Regions from separate parts of the Homo sapiens genome. Here region 1 is linked to region 2. The links are contacts of gene promoters, found by promoter capture Hi-C in blood cells and fetal thymus (Javierre and others, 2016). All regions are on one chromosome and are shown on one strand. The core of a region is centred on a gene start or on the middle of the fragment in contact, and the rest is flanking DNA. Distances in the headings are between cores, read along the strand shown.

What was found. The method cuts DNA at HindIII sites, captures the fragments that hold promoters and counts their contacts. A CHiCAGO score of 5 or more calls a contact.
Region 1: a contact is called between a fragment that was not itself captured here and the fragment with the promoter of TEDDM1 in region 2, in 2 of 17 cell types (megakaryocytes and fetal thymus). The highest score is 7.8, in megakaryocytes.

What each region holds. Positions count from the first base shown.
Region 1 is chr1:182,259,633-182,262,343 of GRCh38, forward strand. The region is part of intron 2 of LINC01344 (long intergenic non-protein coding RNA 1344); the gene reads right to left. Among named protein-coding and RNA genes, the nearest start is that of LINC01344, 53 kb to the right of the region's middle. The HindIII fragment of the contact is 1,412 bases long and covers 622-2,033 here.
Region 2 is chr1:182,399,308-182,402,007 of GRCh38, forward strand. TEDDM1 (transmembrane epididymal protein 1) reads right to left here and starts at 1,360. Exons shown (of 1, transcript NM_172000.4): 1 at 1-1,360. The coding sequence starts at 1,178. The coding sequence ends at 357. The HindIII fragment of the contact is 8,350 bases long and covers 1-2,700 here.

The DNA.
Region 1 (2,711 bases), core at 78-2,577, 140 kb before region 2:
GCAGAAGCAGGCTGGCAAGTGTTCAAGAACAGGCCATCTCATGAGGTTTCCTGTACTTCCTGCCACTGCTGTCGCTGCTGCCAGGGGCACACTCCCCCAGAAAAGCCTTTCTCATGATAGGTTAGCATTTCTGCTACCAGTTGTGGCAGAGGCCAGATGTGAAGGGCATGAAAAGGCAAAATAATGAAAAGGAAATATACCCTCCACTTTCTTGTTTTAGAGCTTTTTTTCCTTTGTTTTTGTGGATTTGTTTTGGAGGAAAGGGAATAGAAGAAAGGGGTGATGGTTTGAAAAATTAACATGTAAGCCCGTGTAAAATTTGCAAAGAGGATTCACAGCGGGTTGGAAGAGGAAGAGGTCGTGTCATTGTGGAATTAGCCAAAGGAATGTGCAGCCCTTTCAGTTGTACACTAAAATGGCAGAAGTTTGCACCAGTCAAAACCAACATCCCAGTTCTTTCCCTGCATTCACCTGGGTCCTCTTTCATGAAGTCTCTGTCCAGTTCATTGAGTGGTATTGTCTTATACTCAAGAGGAAATCACCAGGTTCAGCACAGTAGGGAACATTGACAGACTGTGGTCACCACAGCCAGATGTTCCAAACTGTCCTGAAGGGCTGAGAAGCTTGTCATGTTCAATAATGTATCCCAGTGCCCAGAAAAGTGCTTGGTACCAAACTGACACTCAAGAGATTATAAATATCCCTTGATGATTGAATAAATGAATAGAGGTGATTTTGGCTGACATTAACATTAGATTTAGAGAAAAATAGTTATTTTATAGCAAAACAGATATAAATTACTTTATTACCATAGAATAATCTCTGTCCCCTTTCTTTGTTCACTATCTTTATTAATCCATAAGTGAATCTCCCCTGCCCCATCCCCAGTCATATACCCATATGAAGTGCTGACATTTTATTTTTCTGTACTCACTGATGACAGATTTTTTTTAAAAAAGATGGCAGCTTGCACAAGGAGCAGGGTGGTCGACGTTACCTGACAAGGTCCCTGGCCTGTGTATCTTCTCCTCAAAGCCTCAAATGCTCATGCAGCCCAAGGATAGAGGGAACCAGAGAGCTGTGGTCAGCCTGAAGTGACTTTGCCACATCTGAAATGACCCATGAGCTAAGGGCCTATGGAGACTACAACAGTTGTGAGACTCCCACAGCAGTTCCAGATAACTTTTAAAGTTATCTAATCCAACTGCTCAGCCTCCCAAAGTGCTGGGATGACAGGCGCGAGCCACCACACCTGGCCACATCTGTATTCTTTATGCTATATTAAGGTAGCATCATCCTCAGTCCTGCCATGTTGTTACTACTGGTTTTCCTTGTATTGAGCTTTCCCCTAAATGTGCCCACTGGGCTTCTGTGCTTGAGTTCATGGATAGCCAGGACTTGCCATGTCTGCTGGGCCCAGCAAACCTGCAAAAGCATGCCCTCCCACAGCAACATTGCAGTCACCAAACATTGTCCACCAAGTCTCTGGGAAATCCATAACAATGCATTTACATTCTTTTTTTTTTTTTTTGAAATAGAGTTTTGCTCTTGTTGCTCAGGCTGGAGTGCAATGGTGCGATCTCAGCTCATGGCAACCTCTGCCTCCCGGGTTCAAGTGATTCTCCGGCCTCAGCCTCCCAAGTAGCTGGGATTACAGGCGCATGCCACCACGCCCAGCTAATTTTGTATTTTTGGTAGAGACAGGGTTTCTCCATGTTGGTCAGGCTGGTCTCGAACTCCCAACCTCAGGTGATCTGCCCGCCTCAGCCTCCCAAAGTGCTGGGATTACAAGCGTGAGCCACTGCGCCCGGCCACATTTGCATTCTTATATGGAAATTGACTGCTTATTTTGTTACTTAAACTCTAGTATCACTACTGAACTCTTATGTCTGCCCTCTTGTTGGCCATTTTCTGTGTTCTCTCTTTGCTACTGTTAACAGTCTTCATAGAATCTGATTTTGTCCTTTTACCTTGAGATGTGTTCTCATACTTTAAATTCTAGATTTTGACCAGGGCAGGATATATACAAGACAAGCTTAAAACATCTTGTAGTGCCAGAAAGTAAGAAAGTGCTCAAAAACAAAAACAAACAAAAAAAACCAAATAAACAAAACAAACACACACTGATGGGGCTATGTCAAAGAGACACAGGAGGAAACTGAAAGTGCTCCCAATGTCCAAAACTAGAACAATTTGAGCAAAAAAATAAAGTAGTACTGAAAGTAGAAAACCTGCTTATTCATATAAACTGGCCAGGTGCAGTGGCTCATGCCTGTAGTCCCAACACTTTGGGAGGCTGAGGTGGGTGAAACACTTGAGGCCACGAGTTCAAGACCAGCCTGGCCAACATGGTGAAACCCTGTCTTTATTAAAAATACAAAAATTAGCCAGGTATGGTGGCACACACCTGTAATCTTAGCTACTTGGGAGGCTGAGGCACAAGAATCACTTAAACCCGGGAGGCAGAGGTTGCAGTGAGCTGAGATCGCACCACTGCACTCCAGCCTGGGTGACAGAGTGAGACTCTGTCCCCCCTAAGAAAAAAGAAAGAAAAAGAAAAAGGAAAAAGAAAGTAGAAAATCTGCTTATTCATATAAATGAATATCCTTTCTGTCGCCTTCTTCCTCATCTTTGTTGGATTTACTCTGCCTTTGGCTGGAATTTTATCCTCTCTCATTGTTCATTATACAATGAAATACCAAACTCCTGTG
Region 2 (2,700 bases), core at 110-2,609:
TCTTCTCAGTAATTAGAGGCTCAGGGACAGAAAATGCACCAGCACGGGCATGGTGGCAGGCTCCTGTAATTGCAGCTACTCGGGAGGCTGAGGCAGGAGAATCGCTTGAACTCGGGAGGCGGAGGTTGCACTGAGCTGAGATTGTGCCATTGCACTCCAGGCTGGGCAACAGAGCGAGACTCTGTCTCAAAAAAAAAAAAAAAGAAAAGAGAAGAAAAGAAAATGAACCAGCAGACGGGACCAACTGCTAGCCTTCAAGGCCATTACCTTTACCAAGGAGGGTACCATGCTCGTGGCTGAGGAGCCAACAGGAGGAAGATGAGGTGGACGATGTGCCAGCCACTGTAGGCCCTGTCTCAGGGGGAGCTCTTTGGAAGGAGGAGAGCCTGGTCCTCTTTCTCTGACTGCTCCACTTCCTGTAGCAACTTGTAGAGGGGTCCTGGAGTGCTTGCATAATATGGAGCTTCTTTGGGCCCAGTCAGCTTCAAGCTGGGTCTGAAACAATGATACCAAAAGGAAGAGAAGCCATAGATTCCCAACAGGAATGAGGCATTGATCATCACATGCCAGCAGAAGAAGGTGGTGACAAACATGATGTCACTGATGTCATCGTCCTGCCATGGGTAGCCAGAGACGGGTCTGTATAGAATAAAGCCTGCCTGCATCAGCCAGGAGCCCATCATCAGAATCAGAAAGGTCTCCATCAGCTGGAGATGACACATGTTGGGAGCCCACAGCTCTGCAGTCAACACCAGCAACAGCAGGAACACCACCAAGATGAGCAGAGAATAAACGTGCAGCTCCACCCCTTCTGAATCTTTAACATGTGACACCATCAGCAGCAGGAGCTCGTAGATGATCAGGACCAGGGTACCTTTTTCTAGGCCCACACACCTCTGAGGCAGCACATTCTTGCTCATGAAGTCCACACAGCCATTAAGAGTGAGGAGGATGAACATGGTGAGGTGCTGCCACTCTTTGGGGTACATGAACCTTGATGGCACTTGCTTCCTCATGAGCACCATCCCGCCATCAAGACAGAGAACCACATAAAATGTTAAGAGGGAGCCAGTCACTATCTTTAGTAATCCTCCATAGGCTATTTTCCACAGCCTGGCACATCTTTGCTTATTCCTGGGAGAGCACAAAGGATACAGGAGACAACCTTTGAGTATCATGCCCTTGGAGACCACTGTGGCCTGATATAGTCCATAAGAGAAAAGAAATAGCCCCAGTTAAAAATGGCCAATGGACTTTCCCATGGAATACAGGCCTGTCCGACTGAAGCGTGAAGAGCAATACTCAGGACCTCTCTGCTCTCCTCTCCCTCACAGGCCTCTCGAGTTCTGGGCCTATATATACAGAGCTAAGTTCTACCTACTTTTATCATCTCCTTCTGCCCACTGCTCTCTCACAGACTGGAAAGTTCTGGACAGGAGCCTAGGTTTTTAGTGAGGTGGGTCTCATTGTTCCATTTCATTCCAGTACACTGGGAACTAATTGAGTTCTGCCAAAGTAGAAACATAAATATTTTTTAGTATGCACCTGTGGGAATTTGTGCTCTCAGGAGCTCTGCTTTTGGACCCTTGAGGACCTTCTGGTTACACTTGTCCCTCTCTCTCATGGCTTGCTTCCTTCTGCCCCTGTTCAATGCTCGGAGTAGAAAAAGAGAGGTGCCTGAGCACGGAGATTATCCAGAGAAGACCCGGGTTACTCACAAACCTTAATGCATCCTTTAAGACTCCTTACTCGGACAGGCATGGTGGCTCAAGCCTGTAATCCCAGCACTTTGGGAGGCCAAGGCAGATCTCGAGGTCAGGAGTTCGAGATCAGCCTGGCCAACATGGTGAAATCCCATCTCCACTAAAAATACAAAAACTAGCTGGGCATGGTAAAGAGTGCCTGTAATCCCAGCCACTTGGAAGGCTGAGGCAGGAGAATTACTTGAACCCGGGAGGCGGATGTTGCAGTGGGCCAGGATCATCTCACTACACTCCAGCCTGGGTGACAGAGCGAGACTGTCTCAAAAAAAAAAAAGACTCCTTACTCATATGTTGGGTCATATACTGAGAGCAAATACATTCTTCCTAGACATAAAAGTTTATAAACGTTTGGATGTGTGCTCATATATATAGATACTGAGCTCTTGTCCTCTTCATTCTTCTGTAACAGTTTTTGGGGATCACAAAGAAAGCAGCTCAATTGCCCCAAATTATCTTTCCAAAGAACAGTAGATGAATGTAAAATGTCACCTTTTGAGATCAATTTTGGAATGTTAAGGTATAATTTTTTATTAAAATGCAGATATGTTGAGATAAGTAGATCCAACAAACTGCTTATATTTTAATGTGAATTAGGTCCTCAACTTTATTCTCTCTTTAATTATCATTTACTATGTGTCTAACACATATAGGCAGAAAGAGTTCTAAGCACTAGGTAGCAGCCAGCTGCATATGAGGGGTTGCATCCAAGGCAAGAGTCTTCATTTATTTATTTTTATTTCTATTTTTATTTTTATTTTTAGACAGTGTCTCGCTTTGTTGCCCAGGTTGCAGTGCAGTGGCTTGATGACGGCTCACTGCAGCCTCAACCTCCTGAGCTCAATCAATCCTCCTGCCTCAGCTGCTGAGTAGCTGGGACAACAGACATGAGCCACCACATCCAGCTATTTTTTGTAGAGATGAGGTCTCACTACATTGT